7 separate regions of the Homo sapiens genome follow, and all the other regions are linked to region 3. Evidence: promoter capture Hi-C in human tissues and cell types (Jung and others, 2019). All regions are on one chromosome and are shown on one strand. The core of a region is centred on a gene start or on the middle of the fragment in contact, and the rest is flanking DNA. Distances in the headings are between cores, read along the strand shown.

The links. Contacts are between HindIII fragments. The study calls those that stand out against the background at their distance.
Region 1: a contact is called between a fragment that was not itself captured here and the fragment with the promoter of SIN3B in region 3, in 1 of the 25 tissues and cell types used here (H1 embryonic stem cells).
Region 2: the fragment with the promoter of CALR3 here is called in contact with the fragment with the promoter of SIN3B in region 3 in 2 of the 25 tissues and cell types used here (IMR-90 fibroblasts and pancreas).
Region 4: a contact is called between the fragment with the promoter of BABAM1 here and the fragment with the promoter of SIN3B in region 3, in 2 of the 25 tissues and cell types used here (IMR-90 fibroblasts and heart left ventricle).
Region 5: a contact is called between the fragment with the promoter of SLC35E1 here and the fragment with the promoter of SIN3B in region 3, in 1 of the 25 tissues and cell types used here (H1 embryonic stem cells).
Region 6: a contact is called between the fragment with the promoter of CHERP here and the fragment with the promoter of SIN3B in region 3, in 1 of the 25 tissues and cell types used here (mesenchymal stem cells).
Region 7: a contact is called between a fragment that was not itself captured here and the fragment with the promoter of SIN3B in region 3, in 2 of the 25 tissues and cell types used here (lymphoblastoid cells and spleen).

Annotation. Positions count from the first base shown.
Region 1 is chr19:17,178,027-17,181,583 of GRCh38, reverse strand. MYO9B (myosin IXB) reads right to left here. Exons shown (of 40, transcript NM_004145.4): 15 at 544-657. Among named protein-coding and RNA genes, the nearest start is that of USE1, 36 kb to the left of the region's middle. RefSeq lists a silencer at 30-324 and enhancers at 1-418, 419-1,011. The HindIII fragment of the contact is 3,887 bases long and covers 53-3,557 here.
Region 2 is chr19:16,494,021-16,497,652 of GRCh38, reverse strand. It overlaps CALR3 (calreticulin 3), which reads left to right and starts at 1,486. Exons shown (of 9, transcript NM_145046.5): 1 at 1,486-1,614; 2 at 1,801-1,902. The coding sequence starts at 1,524. It overlaps C19orf44 (chromosome 19 open reading frame 44), which reads right to left and starts at 1,259. Exons shown (of 9, transcript NM_032207.4): 1 at 1,188-1,259. RefSeq lists enhancers at 1,157-1,586, 1,221-1,721, 1,722-2,222. The HindIII fragment of the contact is 12,389 bases long and covers 1-3,632 here.
Region 3 is chr19:16,828,141-16,831,715 of GRCh38, reverse strand. SIN3B (SIN3 transcription regulator family member B) reads right to left here and starts at 2,318. Exons shown (of 19, transcript NM_001297595.2): 1 at 2,176-2,318; 2 at 1,819-1,925; 3 at 69-222. The coding sequence starts at 2,295. RefSeq lists a silencer at 2,171-2,350 and an enhancer at 2,091-2,592. The HindIII fragment of the contact is 27,079 bases long and covers 1-3,575 here.
Region 4 is chr19:17,265,230-17,268,692 of GRCh38, reverse strand. BABAM1 (BRISC and BRCA1 A complex member 1) reads right to left here and starts at 1,250. Exons shown (of 9, transcript NM_014173.4): 1 at 1,166-1,250. RefSeq lists enhancers at 762-1,473, 981-1,480, 1,741-2,200. The HindIII fragment of the contact is 20,462 bases long and covers 1-3,463 here.
Region 5 is chr19:16,570,146-16,573,689 of GRCh38, reverse strand. SLC35E1 (solute carrier family 35 member E1) reads left to right here and starts at 1,275. Exons shown (of 6, transcript NM_024881.5): 1 at 1,275-1,746; 2 at 2,108-2,178. The coding sequence starts at 1,326. LOC105372295 (a long non-coding RNA gene) reads right to left here and starts at 1,140. Exons shown (of 3, transcript XR_936360.3): 1 at 882-1,140. RefSeq lists enhancers at 969-1,058, 366-1,240 and silencers at 1,159-1,378, 1,509-1,618, 1,779-1,908. The HindIII fragment of the contact is 29,713 bases long and covers 1-3,544 here.
Region 6 is chr19:16,541,149-16,544,573 of GRCh38, reverse strand. CHERP (calcium homeostasis endoplasmic reticulum protein) reads left to right here and starts at 2,137. Exons shown (of 17, transcript NM_006387.6): 1 at 2,137-2,220; 2 at 2,531-2,704. The coding sequence starts at 2,196. RefSeq lists silencers at 2,236-2,425, 2,436-2,505. The HindIII fragment of the contact is 9,580 bases long and covers 473-3,425 here.
Region 7 is chr19:17,241,518-17,245,147 of GRCh38, reverse strand. NR2F6 (nuclear receptor subfamily 2 group F member 6) reads left to right here. Exons shown (of 4, transcript NM_005234.4): 1 at 1-205. Among named protein-coding and RNA genes, the nearest start is that of NR2F6, 2.6 kb to the left of the region's middle. The HindIII fragment of the contact is 5,712 bases long and covers 1-3,630 here.

The DNA of each region.
Region 1 (3,557 bases), core at 747-3,246, 350 kb before region 3:
AGCATGAGAGTCATTACCCCATTTGCAGGCTGAAAGCAGAGACTACTCAATCCCACAGTGTGCTAACAGTCGGGATCCCAAACCGGTTTATGCACCTTCTGGGCTCTCCTGACTGGCTTATGTGGCCACCTGCAGAGATCAGGGCCACCCTCTCTGGGAAATCGCATGCCCTGCTGCAGATGGCTTCTCTGCAAACTCACAGTGGCAAAGGCGGGAGCAAGCTTTGCTCTGCAAGCCAGATAGGCACGGGGAGGAGACGGAGGATGGCACGTTTGCGGGTGGAAAATTAGATGCCTCGAAGAAGGAGTGCTCCTGGGAAGCTGCCCCGTGTGCTGGGAAGCCGGCTGTGCCTGGGCCACAGTGCAGACAGAGGCCAGGGGTGTTATTGATTGGCATTTAGTGATGGCTGGGGGTGGGCCATGAGACAGCACTGTGGTTTTAGTGGCCGATGCAAATTAGGAAGACTGCAGGCCCCGCCGGGGTCGCAGGAGTAGTGGGAGGCGGTTGTCGCACTTGTAAGCAGGGCCTTGGTGGGGGACTCACAGGATGAAGGCGCGGGGTTTCTGGAGCCGACTGAGGGACTGGAGAAGGCTACGGGGGTCCTCGCCCTGCCAGGGCAATCCTTTGATGCTCTTGATCATTTGGTTATGCAAATCGCTGAGGGGAGGGGTGGAGGGGGCGCAGTGACAGAAAGAAGATGGAGTTAGAAGCAGGCCTGCCACCTCGGGGTTCCCAGCGCCATTGGGACCATCCCCAGGCCACTGAAGCCAAAACATGCAGCTGGGGGAAAGACACTGTGCTCAATGCTGCCCCTCTCTCTTTTGCCAGAAATGGGGACTGGGCCAGCCTCCCCAAGCCCTGGAGCGGGGCAGGGCTTTGAGGCAAATTGGACTTGGCAACACAGATCATTGATCCTTTTCAATACATCATTTCCAGCTGGGTGCGGTGGCTCACACCTGTAATCCCAGCACTTTGAGAGGCCGAGGCGGGTGGATCACCTGAGGTCAGGAGTTCGAGACCAGCCTGGCCAACATGGCGAAACTCATCTCTGCTAAAAATACAAAAAGTTAGCTGGGCATGGTGGAGGGCACCTGTAATCCCAGCTACGTGGGAGGCTGAGGCAGAATTGCTTGAACCCGGGAGGCAGAGGTTGCAGTGAGCTGAGATAGTGCCATCCATTGCACTCCAGCCTGGGAGACAGAGCGAGACTCTGTCTCAAAAAAAAAAAAAAAAAAAAAAAAATTATTTCCATCTGGTCATTCCACTTTATTCGATCCTTTTCATTTGGATCACTGAAAAAGTTCTCATATTTAAGAGCCTTTGGGGATATTTATTTATTTATTTATTTATTGAGACGGAGTCTCACTCTGTCGCCCAGGCTGGAGTACAATGGCGCAATCTCAGCTCACTGCAACCTCTGCCTCCTGGGTTCAAGCAATTCTCCTGCCTCAGCCTCCTAAATAGCTAGGATTACAGGCGTGCACCACCATGCCCGGCTAATTTTTGTATTTTTAGTAGAGATGGGGTTTCATCATGTTGGTCAGGGAGGTCTTGAACTCCTGACCTTGTGATCGGCCCACCTCAGCCTTCCAAAGTGCTGGGATTACAGGTGTGAGCCACCGCGCCTGGCTGGGGATATTTATTTAGTTTTAAATTTATTTTTATTTTTATTTTATTTTTTTTTGGAAACAGTGTCTTGCTCTGTTGCCCAGGCTGGAGTGCAGTGGTGCGATCTCAGCTCACTGCAACCTCCACTTTCCAGGTTCAAGCGATTCTCCTGCCTCAGCCTCCTGAGTAGCTGGGATTACAGACATGCATCACCCTGCTCAGCCTATTTATTTTTTAAATTCCATGACAGGCTGGGCGCGGTGGCTCATGCCTGTAATCCCAGCACTTTCGGAGGCTGAGCAGGGCAGATCACCTGAGGTAGGGAGTTCAAGACCAGCCTGGCCAACATGGTGAAACCCCGTCTCTACTAAACACACAAAAATTAGCTGGGCATGGTGGCGCATGCCTGTAGTCCCAGTCACTCCGGAGGCTGAGGCACGACAATCGCTTGAACCTGGGAGGCAGAGGTTGTAGTGAGCCGAGATCGCACCACTGCACTCCAGCCTGGGCAACAGAGTGAGACTCTGTCTAAAAAAAAAAAAAAAAAAAAAAAAATCAGTTGGGGCGACTCAGAAAAAAGACCCTAGGGAGGGTCTCTGTGGGAGGAGCAAATTAGTCTCTCTCCATGATTTTGTGGCCAGATGTCAATCTCCTTGTTGGCTTCATTAAGGCCTTTGGAGGAATTAATTTGAATACAAGAGCCACAGTTTGAACACAGCAGTTCTCAACCGGGGCGGTACCATCCCCATCAGGGGACATCTGCCAATGTCTGCAGACATTTGTGGTTGCCATGACTTGGGGGTGGGGGTGCTCTCCTGGCATCTGGTGGGTGGAGGCCAGGGATGCTGCTCAACACCCTACAGTCTACAGGACGGGTGCCCACCCCAGAGAATGATCTGGCACAGTGCTGAGGTTGAGAAACCCTAGTTTTTTTTTTTTTTTTTTTTTACAGAGTCTTGCTCTGTTGCCCAGGCTGGAGTGCAGTGGTGTGATCTCGGCTCACTGCAAACCCCGCCTCCCAGGTTCAAGTGATTCTCCTGCCTCAGCCTCCCCAGTAGCTAGGATTACAGGTGCACACCACGCCTGGCTAATTTTTGTATTTTTAGTAGACACAGGGTTTCACCATGTTGGCCAGGCTGGTCTTGAATTCCCATCCTCAAGTGACCTGCCCACGTATGCCTCCCCCAAGTGCTGGGATTACAGGGGTGAGCCACTGCGCCCGGCCAGAGAAACCCTAGTTTAAGGGGATAATTACCCTCAAAGCACTCAACCTTACTCGCTTCATTTTGTTTGATGGCTGTGGGCTTAGGCTTGAGCACGCACGCGGAGGTGCAAACTTTGGCACTGATACCGTGTGTGAATTAGAATGCCTTAGAGATGAAAACTGGATGCTTTCAAACTAAATATTAGTGAGGAATGTCTAAATGACAAATGTTTTTGACAGAACTCAGAACTTCTAGAAATGAGGATCTGGTTTTTCCTGCTTTTTTTTTTTTTTTGAATTCCTTATTCCAGACATTTTATTTATTTTTTCTTGTAGGCGTGTGGTCTTGCTATGTTGCCCAGGCTGGTTTCAAACTCCTGGCCTCAAGTGATCCTCCGGCTTTGGCCTCCCAAAGCGCTGGGATTGCAGGTGCGTGCTACCGCATCCTGCTGGCAGTCGTTCAAAGCACATGTTTTAGCTCTCGGCAGGTGGCCTGGAAGGACCCGACCCCAGCCCCTGTGCTCCATGCACCATGCCAAGTGCCCCCATGGCCCCACTTACCTGCTCTCCCCAGCCCTCCAGGGAGGCAGAGCAAAGGCAACAGAGGGGTCGCCTGTCACCTCTATATGCGAGTGGCCTTCACACCCAGGGTGGTCAGTGCAGCGGCCACGGCTTGGAATGAGGCCCATGACTTTGGCCCACCCGCAGCCCTGCCGACCTGGCTAAATCTGCAAATCTGGCAGGA
Region 2 (3,632 bases), core at 237-2,736, 330 kb after region 3:
GCCAAGCCGGGCGCAGTGGCTCACGCCTGTAATCCCAGCACTTTGGGAGGCTAAGGCGGGCGGATCACGAGGTCAGGAGATCGAGACCAGCCTGACACACATGGTAAAACCCCGTCTCTACTAACAATACAAAAATTAGCGGGGCGTGGTGTCATGCGCCTGTAATCCCAAATACTCAGGACGCTGAGACAGGAGAATTGCTTGAACCTGGGAGGCGGAGTTCGCAGTGAGCCGAGATCGCACCATTGCACTTCAGCCTAAGTAACAGAGCGAGAATCTGTCTCAAAAAAAAAAAAAAAAGGAAAGAAAAAAGAAAGTAGCCAGACACTAAACTCCACACACCCTATCATTTCATTTGTAAGAACTGTCAAGAAAAGGCAAACCAATAAACTCAGAAAGCAGATCGGGCCGGTGCTGTGACTCACGCCTATAATCCCAGCACTTTGGGAGGCCAAGGCTGGCAGATTACGTGAGGTCAGGAGTTCGAGACCAGCGTGGCAAACATGGTGAAACCCCATCTCTACTAAAAATACAAAAAATTAGCCGGAGTGCAGTGGCATGATCACAGCTCACAGCAGCCCTTGACCTCCTGGACACAAGCAATCCTCCCTCCTGCCTCAACATCCTGAGTAGCTGGGACTACAGGCGCGTGCCACTACACCTGGCTAATTTTTTATTTTTATCTTTTTTAGAGATGGGGTCTCGCCAGGTTGCCCAGGCTGGTCTGGATCTCCTGGCCTCAAGTGATCCTCCCGCCTCTGCCTCCCAAAGTGCTGGGATTCCAGGCGTGAATCACCGCGCCCGGCCTGACGCAAAGTTCTAAAGCTGGATGAGCTGGATGGTGGCGACGGCTTCACAACTTTGTAGATTTACTAAAAATAACGGAGTCGTCAGCTTAAAAGTGGCGAACACTATGGTATGTAAATGAAGGCTCAATAAAGTTGTTACAAATCAACAAACCAAAACTTGAAAACCCTGGCGCCCCTGAGACCATCCTGCTCTTCTCCCCAGCTATGAAGCGACCCGCGCAGGACCATGCTCCAATAGACCCCAGACAGGGAAACTGAGGCGCGGGACCATCCTGCAGCGGCCCAACCAGCTCAGCCCCGGAGAAGGCCCCATTTCCCCGTATCCCCCTCGCGAGCCCGGACGCCCAGCTAGGTCACCTCCCCACCAGCCCTGCCGACCTCTTCCCACGCCGTCCATTCGCAGAGGCAGCCGCCACATTCACGCCTGAAGGAGCGGTTGCCCTGGGCAACAGAGCCAGAGCAGAAGAGACTACATCTCCCGGGAAGCACCGCGCCCCGCAGACCAATGGCGCCCCGAATCACAATCGCGGGGTGTCATGGGAGCGGTAGTTCCGGGGCGGGCCCAACGTGCCCCGCGCCGCAGCGACCAATGGGACCCTCAGGTCATAATCGCGAGTTGTGACGGGAGTTGTAGTTTCGGGACGCGCCTGAAGAGCCGCAGAGAGAGCTGGGAGCTAAGGGGTGGCGGCGACCGGAAGCGCAGTGCACACCCCCATGGCCCGGGCTTTGGTCCAGCTCTGGGCCATATGCATGCTGCGAGTGGCGCTGGCTACCGTCTATTTCCAAGAGGAATTTCTAGACGGAGGTGAAGGGGCCACGCCCGTGGTGGCGGAGGTGTAAGCTCCCCCATCTCCGCCCCCTAAGGCTGGCCAGAGTCGCCACGGGGTCCACGGCAGCGAACCCTCGAATCCTCGAGGGTCCCCTTCACCCTTCCCTTAGCCCAAATTAACCATTATCACCTCTAACCGGTGTTATTTCCCCTTCCCCACAGAGCATTGGAGAAACCGATGGTTGCAGTCCACCAATGACTCCCGATTTGGGCATTTTAGACTTTCGTCGGGCAAGTTTTATGGTCATAAAGAGAAAGATAAAGGTTAGTGTAGAATCAGGACCAAATTGAGCCTAATGTTACATTTCCATAGCAACCTCTCTAGGTAGTTGTGGCACAGCCAAAACGCTTTTATTCCCGTTTTACAGATGAAGACATTAAGGCAAAGGTAGAACTTAAGGGGCTCCTTTCCTTGTTTTTTTGTTTCTTCTCTCCTTTTTTTTTTTTTTTTTTTTTGAGACGGAGCCTTGCTCTGTTGCCCAGGCTGGAGTGCAGTGGCGCGATTTCGGCTCACTGCAACTTCCACCTCCCGGGTTCAAGCAATTCTCCTGCCTCAGCCTCCCGAGTAGCTGAGACTACAGGCGCGCGCCACCATGACCGGCTAATTTTTGTACTTTTAGTAGAGACAGGGTCCACGTTGGCCAGGCTGGTCTCGAACTCCTGACCTCATGATCCACCCACCTTGGCCTCCCAAAGTGCTGGGATTACAGGCATGAGCCACAACATCCAGCCTCCTCTCTCCTTTCTTTATTGCCAAAGATTCCTTTTTTTTTTTTTTTTTTTTTTTGGTAGTAGGAGTCTCGCTCTGTCGCCTAGGCTAGAGTGCAGTGGCACGATCTTGGCTCACTCAAACCTCCGTCTCCCGGGTTCAAGTGATTCTCTTGCTTCAGGCTTCTGAGGAGCTGCGATTACAAGCGTGCGCCACCATGCCCTGCTAATTTTTTTAGAGACAGAGTTTCACCACATTGCCCAGGCTGGACTCAAACTCCTGGCCTTAAGTAATCCACCTGCCTCGGCCTCCTAAAGTGCTGGGATTATAGGCGTGAGCCATGGTGCTTGGCCTATTATCATTATTATTACTTTTATTGGTATTAGGTCCCCTGAAGTCCAAGGAGACATATTCAGCTTATTTGGTATAATAAAATCATACTTGAAGCACTGTCAAATATGCAATGGTATTTAACCTTCTTTGGATTATATTTATATGAATGTGTTATTAGTAGGCATTACCAAAATTGCCCCTCTTAATAGACACTAGTCAAGTGCATTTGAGGATCAAGGGCCATGCCCCTCAGAAGGAAAAGGTTAGTGGGTACTTTTTCTCATTTTAATTTTCGTATTAAAAAGAAAAATAGGCCAGGCGCGGTGGCTCATGCCTGTAATCCCAGCACTTTGGGAGGCCTTAGGCGAGCGGATCATGAGGTCAGGAGTTCAAAACCAGTCTGGCCAATACGGTGACACCCTGTCTCTACTAAAAATACAAAAATTAGCTGGGTGTGGTGGCTCATGCCTGTAGTCCCAGCTACTCGGGAGGCTGAGGCAGAAGAATCACTTGAACCCGGGAGGCAGAGGTTGCAGTGAGCAGAGATCATGCCCCTGCACTCCAGCCTCAGTGACAGAGTGAGACTCCATCTCAAAAAAAAAGAAAAATATGGTCAGGCACGGTGGCTCACGCCTGTAATCCCAGCATGTTGGGAGGCCAAGGCAGGCGGATTACTTGAAGTCAGGAGTTTGAGACCAGCCTGGTCACCATGGTGAAACCCTGTCTCCACAAAAATACAAAAAAGTTAGCCAAGTGTGGTGGCGCACAACTATAATCCCAGCTAATTGGGAGGCTGAGGCAGAAGAATCGTTTGTACCCAGGAGGCAGAGGTTGCAGTGAACTGAGATTGTACCACTGCACTCCAGCCTGGGTGACAGAATGAGACTCCATTTCAAAAAATAAAAGAAAAAAATACAGAGATAAACATTACATCTTGTCGCCTGCACATTCT
Region 3 (3,575 bases), core at 1,069-3,568:
GGCCCAACCTGAGTAGCAAGACATACTCGGTGAAGGCTGAGATCACCCGAACCACTGTAGTGGCATACCTGGCTTGTCAGAGGCGACTGTATGTTTAACTTGCCATTCTTGGGAATGTCTATTCTATATCCGAGGGGAAGAAAAGCGTTGAATCCAACAATGAGGTCAGGGTGCTCGTGGAAGAGCTGCGAGACACGTCTGATGACTCCAGGAGTATCGATGCTAGAAGAAACAACGGAAGTGGGCAAAAGGGTCTTGGGAAATAAATGAAAAATATAATCTATTCCCCACTCCCTTGATACTGCCACATAAAAACCTTCTCAACAGACAACAAAGGAACCTAAAATGTGACCCACCAGGCGCAGTGGCTCATGCCTGTAATCCCAGCACTTTAGGAGGCCGAGGCAGGCAGATCACCTGAGGTCAAGAGTTCGAGACCAGACTGGTCAACATGGTGAAACCCTGTCTGTACTAAAAATACAAAAACGAACTTGGAGTGGTGGTGCGTGCCTGCAGTCCCAGCTACTCAGGAGGCAGAGGCACAAGAATCACTTGCACCCGGGAGGCGGAGGCTGCAGTGAGCCCAGATCACACCACTGCACTCCAGCCTGGGCGACAGCACGAGAATCCATCTCAAAAAAAAAAAAAAAAGTGCCCCCATGTGATAGCATCTGTACACCATGACCTATCTCCTGACTGGCTAGGCCTGAGCTCCCTGTTCCCTCCTGGTGAGAACCAGAGAATACTGACATCGCTCAGCTCCCCTAAAACACTCCAAGAATGGGTACTCGGTTCTGAAAATGTCAGGAGAGCCAACCGCAAGGCCTGGACTCCAAGAAATGGCAGGAGGCCAAAGTCCTCTAAGCAATGTGAAAACTTCCCTCATTTTGTATCAGATAGAGATGACTATGACACAGGTTTCCATCTGAGCAAACAATTGCAATGCATAAATACCAATGGTACTGCCAAGAATGGGAAAGGTGTAAGAAAAATAGGAGGGGAGAGATGGGGTCTCCCTTCTGGCTGCATTGCAGCCCAGCCCTTAGCACTGGGCTCCCGGAAGGAAACCAGGCCAGCCCCACCATGTTTCCTAAGAGGGGGCAGCAGTATGGTAAGCATGTGACTTCCAAGAATCTGAGTCAGAGGGTCTGAGTTCTAGTGACACCTCTGCCACTTAGGTGGGTCCCTTACCCACTCCAAACCTCAGTGAGTCTCCTATAAAAACAAGGGCATGATCCCAGGGTTTCCCATCTATCTGTAATCTTCCTTGATTCTGGGCCTGCAAAATCATCTCATGTGTTTTAAACGTTTTCTGTGTGCCAGCTCCCTTACTAAGCATTTTATGCGTCTTACTTCCAAGCAGGCCTGGGACCACAGTGAGCCCAGAGAAGCATCTTGAGGACAAGATTAAAGGGGAAGAGGGTGCCAAAAATTTCAATCATCAAGACAATAACATTTTACAGCGCTTGAAAATAAAAATCAAAATGGGTCCCACCAAATCTTTCATGAACAAAACTAATATAAAAATCAACATATTAAATCAAGGCAGGATTTGACTCTATGAGTGTGCACGGCCTCGCCCTCCCTGCCTCCCCCCAGATCCCTGTCCTGCTTCCAGGAATCCCCACAAAGCTCCACAAGGTGGGTACTACCCATTTCCATTTTTGTTACGAGAAGGAGCTAGGGCTCTGAGAGATTGGACAACCTGCGCAAGGTCACCCGGCTAAGGGGGCAGGCTGGAGAGGGGAGGTCTCACCCCGCTAGGCCCGATTCCGGCCCAGGGGGGTCCCCTGAGGTGGAGAGGGGCCCCGCTGGTACCTCTGGCTTTTGAACTCCTTCATGATCTCCAGGAAGCCGTTGTAGGTGGCAGGGTCGCTGCCAAAGCGGATCTTCACCTGGTCCAGATAGGTGAGGGCGTCTTCTACCTGCAGAGAGGGGGAGGGTCCCGGTGGGCCCTGGCCGCGGAACGAGGGGACGAGGGGCCGGGGTCCCTGAGGGGAAGGGGATGGGCTGGGCTTTCGGAGGGCCGAGGTGAGAGGTGAGGGGTGAGGGGTCCGGGGCAGTGCAGAGGGGAGGCCGAGGTGGGGCTGGGGCCGGGCGGGGCCTGGGTGAGGGGCGCCCGCCCGCGGGGTCCAGAAGATGGGTTCCCCGAGGGAGGGCGGGGACGCCACTCACGTGCACCGGCAGCTTCTCGTGGCCTGCGGAGCCCGAGCGACCCCAGCGGGCGCCGCTCAGCCCCCGGCCCGCGGGGCCGCCGGCACCGCTGCCACCGCTGCCACCGCCAGCGTGCGCCATGTCCGAAGTCGGAGCTGCGCCCCGCCCCGCCCCCGCCCGAGGTCCTGCCGCGCATGCGCAGCCTCCGCCTTTGGAGGCGGGGTTTGATGACGTTGAGGGGCGGTGCTCTTTGAGGGACTCTTCTGAAGACCTTCTCCTTAAGATTGGTATCATAATTAATGATTTATATAGCAGGGGTAGGCGAGCCAAGACCCGCCGCCTACTTTGTCCGGCCCCGCAAGCTCAGAATTATTTTTACATGTTTACATAGCCGGGGGAAAAATCCAAAGAAGAATAGTCTATGACCTGTGAAAAGTTTGTGAAATTCACATTTGAGGGTCCCTGAATAAAGTTTTATTAGCACACAGACACGCCCACGCGTTTACCTGGCTTCTCTGCCTGCTTTCGCCTTACAACAGAGTAGGTAGTTGCTAAAGATCCTACAGATCTGCAGACCCTGAAGTATTTACGATCTGGCCTTTTATGGAAAAAGTTTGTTGGCCCCTGCTTTATAGAGTTGACGGGACGATGAGGTATGAGCCCCCAGCGCCCTAATATAGGGCCTTGCGTGGTGAATTTTTGCTAAATGGCCTTTAAGTTAGTCCTACTCCTCCCATCTTCACTTCCCTATCCTTGGCCCCGTCACTTCCCATCTGGACCAGTTTAGGAGCCTCCTAACTCTGGTACTTTCTTTTTTTTTTTTTTTTTTTTTTTTTTTTTTTGAGACAGAGTCTCGCTCTGTCGCCCAGGCTGGAGTGCAGTGGCGCGATTTCCGCTCACTGCAAGCTCCGCCTCCCGAGTTCACACCATTCTCCTGCCTCAGCCTCCTGAGTAGCTGGGACTACAGGCGCCCGCCACTGCGCCCTGCTAATTTTTTGTACTTTTAGTGCCACCCCACCTGGCTCTAACTCTGGTACTTTCTCAGCCCTGATACTATCAAGAACTCTAGGCTGGGGATGGTGGCTCACGCCTGTAATCCCAGCACTTTGGGAGGCCGAGGCGGACGGATCACGAGGTCAGGAGATAGAGACCATCCTGGCTAACACGGTGCAACCCCGTCTCTACTAAAAATACAAAAAATTAGCCGGGCCTTGAAAAAAAGAAAAAGAAAATGAAAAAATTGGCTGGGCGCCGTGGCTCACGCCTGTAATCCCAGCACTTTGGGACGCCGAGGCGGGCAGATCACCTGAGGTCTGGAGTTGGAGATTAGCCTGACCAACATGGAGAAACCCCGTCTCTACTAAAAATACAAAATTAGCCGGGCTTTGTGGCGCATGCCTGTAATCCCAGCTACTCGGGAG
Region 4 (3,463 bases), core at 1-2,500, 440 kb before region 3:
CTTTGGGAGGCCGAGGCAGGTGGATCACCTGAGGTTGGAAGTTCGAGACCAGCCTGACCAACATGGAGAAACCCCGTCTCAACTAAAAATACAAAATTAGCCGGGCGTGGTGGCGCATGCGGATAATCCCAGCTACTCGGGAGGCTGAGGCAGGAGAATCGCTTGAACCCGGGAGGGGAGGCTGCGGTGAGCCGAGATCCCGCCACTGCACTCCATCCTGGGCAAAAAGAGCGAAACTCCGTCTCAAAAAAAAAAAAAAAAAAAAGATTGGTTACTAAGAAGGAAGAGGGGCGATGAGCCGCTTACTGATGATGAGTCACTCCTCTTAGGGAGTCACTTTCCTCAGCTGCAGAATGGCTGCCTTTTACACCTCTCAGCCGAGCAGCCACTCCGACATAAGATAACAGTCCCCCCTCTTTTTTCCTCTTTTTTTTTTTAACGTAGTGCTAGCCCCATGCCCCTACTCGGCCAGTGAGCACATCCCAGCTCTCTGGCCACTGAAAATGGCTCAGGGATGGGCACATGACCCAAATCAGGCCATTGAGTGGCAGCTCTGCAACTTCTAGCAGTGTCATCAAGGAAAAGAGACTCTCATTAGAGTTGCAGAGCTGGTAGAATAAAGTTGAGAGCTGTGAGGGGCCCCTTTTGCCTCGGTAAAAAGCGAAATGGTCTCCACCGAGAAAACTGCAGATCGAATTCTGACCACCTGGACCCAGCTCCTGTTAGACCCAATCTATAAGCCACCAACTTCCTTTTCTTCCTTAAGCCAGATTGAGTAGGGTTTTCTGTTACCTAAAACTGAAAATGTCTTGGTGAATAAGGGAATAATAACCTCTAGGACACCCTCGTCCCTAGCGGGTGTCTGCATGAGGGAGAAGCAAAATATTAGTACTGTGGTTCCCCTTGGAGAGAAACAGGACGCGAATGGAGCAGTTTGTCTATCTGGGAAATAGGCACGGGCTTCCCAAGATGGTCTTTGAGCGCCTTGCAGTCCCCACACCTCTAAGAAAAACAAGGCTTTAGCGGCAGCAAGAAGGATGGAGGCTACACTGCAGGAGAAACCAGAAATAAAGGCGGAAGCCCCAGGAAAGGCGAGGAGCTGGATCTCTTGGGGCAAAGGGAGCTGGGCCCCTAGGAACGGGCCCCACACGCTTTCACCACCCACCTTCGGCTCACCGTAGCCTGAACCTCCTTCTAAATCAGCCGCCGACTCACTAGGAAGCCGCCATCTTTACAGCCGGAAGTTGTACGGCGCAGCCCCGACGCCTCCTGGGAAATGTAGTTCAGCGGGCTGCAGAACAAGCAGAGACAGAAACTGGTTGAGGCTAGAAAGAACTTGGAAACTGATAGGCTGAAACTGGGTTGGGGGTGGGGTTTGGAGTGAGAGCTGCCTGGAGCTGGGTGCGGCGGGACCTGGAATGTGATTGGCTACACTGGAGCAAAGTATGAAATGTGATTGGATTAAAAAAATTAGTGAATTTTTGTTTTTGGCCGAATCAGACTACAATAGTCAGTGCTTCTACCGTGATAGGCTGAAACGTGGAATAGAGGTGGAGCTTGCAATGTGATAGGCTAAGAGGGACGGAGAAGGCCGATTTAGGGAAAGAGGAGGAGCTGATTGGTGATTGGTGGAGCTGGCCTGAGCCTCCATGTGGGGCAGGTATTCCCATGTGGGTGTGGCCTGAGCATCCAGGGCCCTTCCCAATTACTTAATTCTTGTTCCTTATTTTACATATATTTGCATGAATCAAAAAATACTTACTCTGGTCTTATTGGGTCACTGTAGGTGGAGCGAAGCTAAGTCGGGCCTATTTCAAGCCTACCTCTTTTTTCATGGCTTTTTTTTTTCTTATTTTTAGAGACAGGGTATCGCTCTGTCGCCCAAACTAGACTGCAGTCACGCGATCATGGCTAGTCACTACAGCCAAGCGATCGCTCAAGTAGCTGGGACTACAGGCGAGGACCACCGCATCAGACTACCCTAGGCTTCCTTCCTTTTTTTTTTATTTTTATTTTTTAGATGGAGTCTCACTCTGTCGCCCAGGCTGCCGTTGTCTTCTTAGTGCACACTTCCCCCTTAGCCCCAGAAGTATTTATTTATTTATTTTTATTTTTTTGAGACAAGAGTCTTGCTCTGTCGCCCAGGCTGGAGTGCAGTGGCTCAATCTCGGCTCACTGCAACCTCCACCTCCAGGGATCGAGCAATTCTCCTGCCTCAGCCTCCCAAGTAGCTGGGATTACAGGCATGCACCACCAGGCCCGGCTGAGATATATATAGTATTTTTAGTAGAGCTGGGTTTTTGTTGTGTTTTTTTTTTTCGTTTTTGTTTTTGTTTTTTTGAGATGGAGTCTCGCTGTGTCACCTAGAGCGGCTCTTTGAAGGCTCTAAGCCTTTGCCCAGGAAGTTCCTTCTGCCTGGAATGCTGTTCCTCCTGTTGCTTTTCTGGCAAGTTCTTTATGCTTCAAAGCTCACCTTACACAGCCCCTCCGGCTATTCTCGAATTAGAGCCTGGCCAATGTGGCCGGCTTCTTTGACCCTCAAAAAAAAAAAAACAACTGAGGAGTTGGGGGCAGTGGCTCACACCTATAATCCCAGCATTTTGGGAGGCTGAGGTGGGTGGATCACGAGGTCAGGAGTTAGAGATCAGCCTGGCCAATATGGTGAAACCCCGTCTCTACTAAAAATACAAAAAATTAGCTGGGTGTGGTGGCGCGCACCTATAATCACAGCTACTCAGAAGGCTGAGGCAGAAGAATTGCTTGAACCCAGGAGGTGGAGGTTGCAGTGAGCCGAGATCGCACCACTGCACTCCAGCCTGCGTGGCAGAACAAGATTCCATCTAATAAAATAAAATAAATAAATAAACTGAGGCTTCAAGTGGCTCTTAAATGTTTCTGGGGCTGGTGGGGTCGGTGGCTCATGCCTGTAATCCCAACACTTTGGGAGGCTGAGGTGAGTGGATCACCTGAGGTCAGGAGTTTAAGACCAGCCTCGCCAACATGGGAAAAACCCATCCCTAGCCGGGTGCGGTGGCTCACGCCTGTAATCCCAGCACTTTGGGAGGCCGAGGCTGGCAGATCACTTGAGGTCAGGAGTTCGAGACCAGCCTGGTCAGCATGGTGAAACCCTGTCTCTACTAAAAATACAAAAATTAGCTGGGCATTGTGGTGGGCACTTGTAATCCCAGCTACTCGGGAGGCTGAGGCAGGAGAATTTCTTGAACCCAGGAGGTGGAGGTTGCAATGAGCCAAGGTTGCGCCACTGCACTCTAGCCTAGGCGACAGAGCAAGACTCCATCTCAAAAAAAAGAGAACTGTCAGCCCACAATGAAGAGACAGGCAGAGAAGAAAAGTTCACAGGGGAGCCAAATAAAAACCATCAGCTCACGGGAACATTCTAGCTCTTTTTTTTTCTTTCTTTTTGAGACAGGGTCTTGCCTTATTACCCAGAATGGAGTGCAGT
Region 5 (3,544 bases), core at 26-2,525, 260 kb after region 3:
GGTTGCTGCTTTCTACTTTTCTTTGAGACTGGGTCTCGCTCTGTCACCCAGGCTGCAGTGCAGTGGCGCCATCATAGCTCACTGGAACCTTGACCTGGGCTCAAGCCGATCCACCCACCTCAGTCTCCCTAGTAGTGGGTACCACAGGCGTGCGCCACCACGCCTGGCTAATTTTTGTATTTTTTGCAAAGATGAGGTTCTGCCATGTTATCGATGCCACGATCTCCAACTCCTGAGCTCAAGCAATCCGCCCACCTTGGCCTCCCAAAGTGCTGGGATTCCAAGCTTGACTCACTGCACCCAGCCGGTTGCTGCTTCTAATTTGACAAGTAAAAACACTGTAACGGAATTTTAACACCCTTTCCCCGAAAAAGTTGGAGGCACACGATGTGGAGAACAAATTATAGCCCTTGAATTAGTATAAGATCATCTTACTGAAAACCTCGTCCTGTTTTCCTCCACTGGGGCCTCCTGGGGCTGGTCCATCCCGGCTGGTCCTTGGACATCAGCCGTCAGGGCCCGGCACCTCCCCCTTCTGCAGAGCCTTGGAGACAGGTGTCCAAGGACGCTACCATGACCACGGTCCCCAGTGTGGCCAGGAAGCCTAAGACAAGTCGCTTCCCCATTCTGGACTTCGGTCTGTGAAATGCGGACAGTGATACCTACCGCACCGCGTTCCTAGGATTCAGTGGGATGATACCAGGGCCACGCCCGAGAACTGCGCACGTCGCGGTGGTTTCCAGAACATGATTCCAGGGATCGGGTGCTCCGGGATAGTCCCACTGCCAGAGTTTGGCCACGAGCGTGCGCCCCCAGTTTGCAGAGCGAGTTTAGCCCAAGAGCTTTTCACAAATGGTTTCTTTCCCTAAAAGGCCTTTTACCTTTGGTGTCAGCCGCCGCCAGCCATCAGGAATCAGGAATCTAGTTAGCGGTTGCCCTTGTATCCCTGGTCGAGGCCCTGATGTTTGGCCCACGCACAGACGCCGACGCTGCGAAGCCCTCCGCGCTTCTGTTCGCCCGTCCCGTTCGAGCTCCGGCTCCCGGTCACTGGGACCGCCCACGTCTCAGGTGGCACAGCTTGGACGCAGGTCTGTGTCCCCTTCTTCCGCTTCCGGCCTCGGCTCCGCCGGAAGCGCATCTACAGTGGACTGGGCCTGCACTCGAGACGTGGTGGCTGGCGCGTCGGCCGGCGCGGAGGGATGACGCGAGGAGGCAGCGACCAATGGGAAACGGCGTAGACCGGGGCGCCTGCCCCCCCGCCCAGCCCCGCCCCCGCCCGGCGTCGGGCCGTCGGACGGGCTGGAAGGGGCGGCCGCTCGGGCAGGATGGCGGCGGCCGCGGTGGGCGCGGGCCACGGCGCGGGGGGCCCGGGCGCAGCGAGCAGCAGTGGTGGGGCGCGCGAGGGCGCGCGGGTGGCGGCGCTGTGCCTGCTGTGGTACGCGCTGAGCGCGGGCGGCAACGTGGTCAACAAGGTGATCCTGAGCGCCTTCCCGTTCCCGGTGACCGTGTCGCTGTGCCACATCCTGGCTCTGTGCGCTGGGCTCCCGCCGCTGCTGCGCGCCTGGCGCGTGCCCCCCGCGCCGCCCGTCTCGGGCCCCGGACCCAGTCCGCATCCGTCGTCCGGCCCGCTGCTGCCGCCGCGCTTCTACCCGCGCTACGTGCTACCGCTCGCCTTCGGCAAGTACTTCGCGTCCGTGTCAGCGCACGTCAGCATCTGGAAGGTGCCCGTGTCCTATGCACACACCGGTAGGTTCCGCGCCCGGCCTCGGGGGCGGCGGCCGGGCCCGCCGCTTCGGGTTTGGGCGCATGGATAGGAGTGCGCCGCCCGGGGCGCGTCCCGCCGGACTGAGAAGTCAGCAGAGGGGCTGCCAAGGGTTTGGTAGGGGAGGGACACGCACGGGGTTCTCAGGGAGAAGAGGAGCTGAGAAGAGAGCTGAGAGGTAAGCAGGACAGACCACAACAGCCGTGGCAGGAGGAAGCCCTACCGAAAGAGAAGGGGCGAAGAGGTGTGAGGGGCTGCCAGGCCCTCCCATCCCGCCGTGGAGGTGGAACAGGTTGGGCCCTGAAATTCAGGCAGCCCCCTGAGTGCCCATCCCTCTCTTTGCAGTCAAGGCCACCATGCCCATCTGGGTGGTCCTCCTGTCCCGGATCATTATGAAGGAGAAGCAGAGCACCAAGGTAACCCCGGGCAGGGACTCTGGGCAGATGGGAGCTCCAGGGGGTTCCTCCCTGTTGCCAACTGGTGACGTGGTCAGGATCCTGGTCTGCAGGCTGCCTGGCTTCCCGTCAAATAGGGAAGTCAGTGTAGAGGTCTCCAGTGGCCTTTTACTACTCAAGTTCTAGAATCACCCTGTGAGCAGTGGTGTGTGGAGTATGTGTCCCTCTGTGATCTCTGCTGTGTGGTCTTAGGAACACTGTTGTCCCTTTCAGATCCAATTTTCCTCCCCGTTTTGATTCCCTACCTGGGTTTGCTGGTAGGTGATGGGTTGGTCACATCTTGGCCATACACCCCATGTGTGGCCTTTCCAGTGGGACTAGGGATGGATGGATCAGAACGCTGTCGGTTAGGTGTTCACTTTTTTTTTTTTTTTTTTGAGACGGAGTTTTACTCTTGCCCAGCCTGAAGTCCAGTGACACAATCTCAGCTCACTGCAACCTCCGCCTCCCAGGTTCAAGCAGTTCTCCTGCCTCAGCCTCTCAAGTAGTTGGGACTACAGACGTGCACTACCACACCTGGCTAATTTTTTTGTATTTTTAATAGAGACAGGGTTTCACCATGTTGCCAGGCTGGTCTCAAACTCCTGACCTCAAGTGATCCGTCCGCCTCAGCCTCCCAAAGTGCTGGTATTACAGGCGTCAGCCACTGCACTTGGCTAGGTTTTCACTTCTTGACAAGAGATTTCTGTCAGGGGACCTCTGGGATCAGAAGCCAGACGCGATCCAAGGAGTTCGATCTTGGCAAAATCCAGCAAAGTCTTAGAAATTAAAACAGCCAGAAGTTGTGATGGTCTGGGAACGGAAGCGAAAGTGGCACACAGGACTCAGGGCTGCATAAGGAGGATGCTTTGGGCACAGTCCAAATTCTGTTCAAGATGCCAAGCCAGGGTATTTCCTGGCTTGGGGCAAGAATAGCCATGGCTTTAGCCGGAGACAGCTTTATCCCGTATTCTTAAGTGGAAGTTGGGCGCTTGTTGTCTCAGCCGGAATCCATTTCATGCTGATGCTGGACACCGTGCCTCTTTTCCAAGTGGTTGGTTTCTGGCATGTTGTATTTTATGTAACTCAGAGAGGTAGTGCCCTGGATCGGCTTATAGAAATTGGGCCACCTATGGCTGATTTTTTTTTATTCCTGCCTGTCTTTGTCTCAGCAAGACCTGTGTGTGCTCTGTAGCCCTGCTCCCCCAGGGTGATGTCAGGCTGTGACTTGGCTCCTGAGAAGTCAGAGTTGTCCCTGAGGTGTGTAGCTGCATCACCGGATATCATCGTGTGTATCAGGTTTCCCCGTTGTACGGGACATTGTACCCAGCTTGGGCAAGGAGCCGGA
Region 6 (3,425 bases), core at 888-3,387, 290 kb after region 3:
CTTTGCCTTCTGGGTCCAAGTGATTCTCGTGCCTCAGCCTCCCAAGTAGATGGGATTACAGGCATCCGCCACCATGCCCGGCTAATTTTTGTATTTTTAGTAGAGATGGGATTTCTCCATGTTGGCCAGGCTGGTCTCGAACTCCTGACCTCAGGTGATCTGCGTGCCTTGGCCTCCCAAGGTGCTGGAATTACAGGCATGAGCCACTGAGCCTGGCCTTTCTTCCTCTTTTTATTTTATTTTATTTATTTTATTTATTTTTTTTTTTTGAGATGGAGTCTCACTCTGTCGCCCAGGCTGGAGTGCAGTGGTGCAATCTCAGCTCACTGCAAGCTCCAAACCAGTCCCACTCCCATGATAACCTATTTATCCATTAACACATGAATGGCACGACCTCATAACCCAATCACCTCTTAAAGGCTCCACCTCTTAATACTGTTTCACTGGGGATTAGGAACAAACATTCAAACTGTAGCAACTTGTATTTAAGAAACTACTCAGTTATCATATTTTGATTTTCACCAACAAAAATTTTATGAACTTTTCTTTCTGGTTATAGAAATACCTAAATAAGGCTGGGTAGGGTGGCTCACACCTGTAATCCCAGCAGTCTGGGAGGCCAAGGCAGGCAGATCATGTGAGGTCAGGAGTTCAAGACCAGCATGGCCAACCTGGTGAAACCCCATCTCTACTAAAAATGCAAAAATTAGCCGGGCGTGGTGGTGCGCACCTGTAGTCCCAGCTCCCCTGGAGGCTGAGGCAGGAGAATTGCTTGAGCACGGGAGGCAGAGGTTGCAGTGAACCGAGATCACACCACTGCACTCCAGCTTGGGCGAGAGAGAGCAAGACTGTGTCTCAAAAAAAAAAAAAAACCAAACAATTAAGATCCTCGATCTTCATGAGAAAATATGAACTAGAGGACATTTAGAAAAAAAAAAATCCTTGATCTTGCCTCCTGACCTGCAGAGTCTAAAATATTTGCTTTCTGTCCCTTTTATACAAAAAGTTTTGTTGATTCCTAGCCTACAGCAACACTTGATGTAGAGTTGTCAATCCATAAGCATCTGGTGGAAAAATGCTGTTAACAATAAAAATGAAACTAATCTAAAATACATGTGCATTTATTTGCACAGAAAAAAACAGGCTGGGTAAAGTAGCTCATGCCTATAATCCTAGCACTTTGGGAGGCCGAGGCGGGAGGATTACTTGAGCACAGGAGTTCAGGGCTAGTGAGCTATGATCATGACACTGCACTCCAGCGTGGGCCACAGAGCAAGACCTTGTCTCAAGAAAAAAGAAAAAAAAAAACGGATAAAGGAAAAAAAAGCGGCGGGGGCGGGGGGCAGGTATAGCCAACTAAGCATTAACCATCTCAAGAGGATCAGTTTATATCGGACGTCCACAGCAGAAATTTGCTGCTTCTGGCTATCTTTTCCCCACAATTAGCAAGGGTTAGCTTCATTATTTTAGAGGCAACCCAACTGCAGCTTTTAGAAAGGCGCTGTGCCCTCTAGGCCAGCAATTTGAGGGCATGGGTTGGGGGGTACCCCGCCCCAGTCTTCCTGACCAAAGAGTGGAGCGGAAGAAAGCCAGGAGGAGGATGTTTTGAACCTAAATACGTCCAGCTGCAATCCCAGTCAAGCTCGTCGCCCCCAGTTCTGCTCCACCTCCGGTCTGGCCGGGGAGAATGTGACAGTCGCCGCAGCCCGGGATCCACCCGGACGCACCTCACCTCGCAGTCTCCTCACTGTGCCCGCGAAAGGAAAGAGACCCTGGCCCAGGCACGAAGTCCCCAGGCCCCTGGTCGCCCGGAGGTAGCAACCAGCCAGCCCATCGGGCTGCGACGCCGACCAAGGGGCACGCCCCGCGCCCCCCGGTCTCGACTAACACCCACCCGCGCCGTTCCAGCCTTTCCGCGGCGCCGCGCGACGGGGACCCACTCTGCGAAAGTGTCAGGAAACTTCTGCGCGTGCGCGTCGCTAGCCCCTCCCGCGCGCCAGGCATCGCGCGGCTTCTTCCCGCCTGCCTCCCGCTCTCACTTCCGGAGTTTCCCAGCGACGGCCGTAAGTGGCGGGCGGAAGCGGCCCTAGAAGCCCGCCGTAAACGGCTCCCTCGCGCCACTTCCGGCCGGCTTCCGCAGACGGCGCTGGTGGTCGATCGTGTGGCGCCGGAGGACGTTCCCCGCGGCCGGAGCCATGGAGATGCCGCTGCCCCCCGATGGTGAGACCCAAACCGGCCGAGAGACCGTTTCTCTCTCCCCGGAACCTCCTATTGGCCGGCCCCGCCTCCCGGAGTCCCCGGGTCTGGGAGGGGGCGGGGCTCGGCCTCGCGGCTTCGCCTGCGGCCTCTCCCGTGGGTCCCCGCATTCCCGGCGAGCGTGTGGCCCCTATCGGGACCCGTACAAGGGCGGCCTCTTCGGGGCCCACCCCCTTGGGGTCCCCGGCAAGGCGGACGGGGGCTGGGGCGCCGAGTCCCCCGGCTTTGGGCGGTCCTCGCTGACGCCCCGCGTGGCCTTTTCTCCGTCCTCCAGACCAGGAGCTTCGAAATGTCATCGACAAGCTCGCCCAGTTCGTGGCTCGCAATGGGCCCGAGTTTGAGAAGATGACTATGGAGAAGCAGAAGGACAACCCCAAATTCTCGTTTCTTTTCGGAGGCGAATTCTACAGTTACTACAAGTGCAAGCTGGCGCTGGAGCAGCAGCAGCGTGAGTCCCCTCCGGCACTCAGGCCGTCCCATCGAGCGCTTCCTTTCTCGGATTCCAGTCCGGGCTCTGCCACAAACCTCTTTCTTTCGGGTCGTTTATTCTTTGAAGTGGAGCAGCTCGGTCCACACGATCCCTGTTCCGCTGTTCCCACGGCCCTGCACAGAGCGGCTGCTGGGTGCCACTGTAATGGAGAACAACGAGGTTTTCGATCCTCCCCCCTGGGCTCTGGATCAGGGATTTTGCTGTTGTTTTGCAGACTGATGACGGAGATTAGCAGGAGTAGCGTGATTGTTTTAGTGTTTTCTAGGGAGGAAGTGATAGAGGCCGGATGGGAGTCCATGGGACAGGCACTGTCCAGCCCCCTTTGCCGTCTCCCTGTGGGTCCAGCAAGGTTTTGTGCATTTCAGATGCCTGCAGCAGAAATCAAAAAGAATTATCCCTCTGAGTTTTAGTTATTGGCAAGTGTTTATCAATGTTCGTTCATTTAGGCAACAGGATTCCAGTCCTGCTCTAAAGAAGTTTAAAGTTAGGAAGCAGAGCTGGCCTTTGAATAATGGATAGTCACCAGGTGGTGCGGCTGCTCAGGGCAGGTATCACATCTGTCACGTTCAGTACCCAACCCCGTCTCTAGATTGTTTAAATGAATAACTAGGAGTTTGCCAGGTAGATGGACATTGAGAGGTGGTTGTCCGCTGTTTGATCGAACGCCAATTGTGTGTTA
Region 7 (3,630 bases), core at 970-3,469, 410 kb before region 3:
CGCGCGCGGCCGAGGACGACTCGGCCTCGCCCCCCGGTGCCGCCAGCGACGCCGAGCCGGGCGACGAGGAGCGGCCGGGGCTGCAGGTGGACTGCGTGGTGTGCGGGGACAAGTCGAGCGGCAAGCATTACGGTGTCTTCACCTGCGAGGGCTGCAAGAGCTTTTTCAAGCGAAGCATCCGCCGCAACCTCAGCTACACCTGCCGGTGAGCCCCCCATCCGCGCGCCGCCGCCGTGCACCCCGCCCCGACCTGGGGCAGGCCTCTGACCTGCTCGGTCACCTTGGGCCTGGCGCTGACCTTCCCTGGGCCTCCACTGCCCCCTCTGAGATAGGGGCACAGCACCCTCCTCCCGCATTCCATGGCTGGGATTGTGTATACAGTCGGCGCTACATCGTTGCAGGTTCCCCCCCCATCAGGTGGTCCCTGGAGGCTTTTGCCCCAGTTACTTGCTTCTCCTTCCCTCCGCTTTTTCTCTGGGGAGGGGTCATCTCCGCGCTGGGGTGGGGGTAGGGGTGCTGTCAGGGGTGGTAACCCAACCCCAGGGCACCCGTTCTCGGGGATCCCGGCGCGCGGGATGCCCTCGAGGGAATCGAACGTGGAACTTGGACCGTGGAGCTCGCAGCGTCCAGGGGCCATTGTCTGCGGCCGCGCGGATCGATACGGCGCGCCCTTGGGGTCAAATATCACTTCCAAAGTCGCTGTGGCTACGGAGGCGGCAGACGGAGGGAGGCTGGGGTGGCACGGGGCGGCCTTCTTCGCATGAGGGGCCCAGCGGTGGGGGTGGGGGTGGGAGCTGGGCTTGCCCATCTCAGGGAACCCCTCTGGGCTCACTCTGGGCCTTGGGTCACCGGAAATCGCCACTGGAAGGCCGGCAGGGCCACCGGAATTGACTGAAACGTCCCTCTCCCCCAGGGGTGGGTGCAGACCTGGGGCTCCTGGAAAAATCCCTCAAACTTTGGGTGTCTCTGAGACGGGCAGGGAGTGAAACGTTTCCGAGCAGGAGCCTTGGGCTGTCCCAGGTCGGAGACCTCTCTGGCAGGGCGTGGCCTTGCTAGCTGTTCTGGCGGAAGGTCCCCAGGGAAAGCGATCGGGGTTGTCCAGCCCGGGAGTTCTTTTCTCACCGTTCCCGGGCGAGCATCCGATCTGTCCGTTTATAAGCCCCTACTCTGCACCCCAGGAACATGCAGGGTCTCTGTGGAGCCCGTCTAGACGGTCTCAGTTCCCAGCTGCCCAAAACAGAGGCCCAAAGGCCCAGAGAGAGGTCCTGGTGCCTGCTTTGCGTTGGACATGGAGGGACGCTGCCCGAGTTGGGGGCACTGTGGGGGAACTGTGGGGCTAGGGTGGGGACCGCTGAGTTCGGATCGGAGTGGCCCCAGGGAGAACGGCTGATGGAAGGCTTGTTGGCTGAGGCCACCAAATAGGGCCCCAGGTACCCGAGGGTGGAGTTTGGCCCCAGGTCCCGGGTCAGGGCTGGCCTGGTGTGGCCATGTGTGGCAGAGCTGCCTTGCTCCCTCCTCCAGCACAAAGTGGGCCACTAGACTTTGGCCTCATTCTTGCTGCTGGAAAACCGCCTGCTCTCTGGTCATATCTTTAGGGAGGGTAAGGGAGGGGGGCTCAGGCAGTTTTGGGGTCCCAGGAGCTTCCTGAGGGTGGTGTCAGGGAGCAGCAATTTTGGGTGGGGGGGGCCTTGCTTGGAGCTGACAGGTTTGTGCTGTGTCAGTTGTGTGACCTGGTGAAATCACCATTCCATTCTGAGCTTCAAATGGATTGAGCAGGGTCTCGCTGGGGCCCAGCCTGGGTAGTTTGATGCCAGCCCCTCCAGAGAGACCCCAGCTCCAAGTCTAGCTCCTGAGAAGCCCCCAGTCTGGAGGAGACACAGTGAGACAGATGCCCCAAGTCTGTGGGATCTGGGGTCCCAGGGAGAGAGCAGAGGCTCTGCCTGGAGGTCAGAGAGGGCTGCCTGGAGGAGGCTAGGGGACATGAGCCTTGAAGCATGGAGTTGGCAGGTGGAAGAAAGGCCACAGGGACATGCCAGAATGTGGTCCAGACAAAACACTTAGTGGCAGACTGGGGGAGCTGTGCTGTAAGAGGGGGACTGTGCAGCCATGGGAGAAGTCAGAGCTAGGTGGGCCTGAAATGCTGGCTGAGGGTAATGGGGAGCCATAGAGGGTGTGTGAGCAGGAGAGGGCTCTGATCAAATTGGACTGGAGGCCAGAAGCCCAGGGAGGAAGCTGAGTTGGGCCATGGGGTTGGGCAAAAAAGCTTGCACTCTTTAGGTGGGATAACAGGAAGAACTTAACTGTTTCCCTCCTTGGAGGGATGGATCTGTCCCAATTCCACAGCTGGGGAAGTTGAGACTGAAGGTTCAGGGCCTCCCCTGAGGTCAGGGGCCCCTGAGCTGGGCCTCTGCCTGCCTGCAGGGCCGCCCCAGGCCAGGCCGTTTCCACCCGGCTGCCCTGGACCCTCCCACCACCCAGCCGCTGGGCTTTGTTCTGGTTCTGCCTGAGCTCCCTCTGCCCTAGTGGGGCCTCTTCCCAGGGGCTCAGTGGCTGGTGCTGCAGGACCCAGGCAGTGGTGGAGGGGGGGTACGGGGGAGTGGGCGCAGATCCTCAGCTTTCCTAAGTTGGGTTCTCCGGCTGGGCTCTGGGTCTTGGCACTGTCCCCCGTGAACCCCTCTGACCCAGTCCATCCCATATGATAGGGCAATATCTGACCTCCCATTTTCAGATGAGGAAACCGAGGCTCAGTGGGGCAGTCGCCACCTGAGGGGCAGGGCTGGGTATCTGCAGCTGAGATTCATCTGTTTTGTTTTGTTTTGTTTTGTTTTTGAGACGGAGTTTCACTCTTGTTGCCCAGGCTGGAGTGCGATGGCGTGATCTCAACTCACTGCAACCTCTGCCTCCCGGGTTCAAGCGGTTCTCCTGCCTCAGCCTCCCAAATAGCTGGGATTACAGGCATGCGCCACCATGCCCGGCTAATTTTGTATTTTTAGTAGAGACAGGTTTTCTCTATGTTGTTCAGGCTGGTCTCAAACTCCCAACCTCAGGTGATCCGCCCGCCTCGGCCTCCCAAAGTGCTGGGATTACAGGCATGAGCCACTGCACCCAGCCTTTTTTTTTTTCTTTTTTTTTGAGACAGAGTCTCACTCTGTCACCCTGGCTGGAATGCAGTGGGTCAATCTTGGCTCACTGCAACCTCCACCTCCCCAGTTCAAGCGATTCTCCTTCCTCAGCCTGCCAAGTAGCTGGGATTACAGGCATGCGCCACCACGCCCAGCTCATTTTTGTATTTTTAGTAGAGACGGGGTTTCACCATGTTGGCCAGGCTGGTCTTGAACTGACCTCAGGTGATCCACCCTCCCCCGCCTCCCAAAGTGCTGGGATTACAGGCGTGAGCCACTGCAGAGATGCATCTGTTTAATTCCCTTAAGTGGTGGTTCTACTCTGTGACTGTCTCTGTGTGTCCCCTGGGTGTCCAGCTGGAACCCCAGGGGTAGTTGCTCCAGGCCCAGGCCTTGGAGAGCCCCCAGCTCCTGGTGGCAAGAGACCAGGGGAGTCCAAGGGCAGGGGCCAAGGGGAGAAGGTTCTGGGGACATTTGAAGAATAAGGCCTGGACCTTCCTGCTTGGGG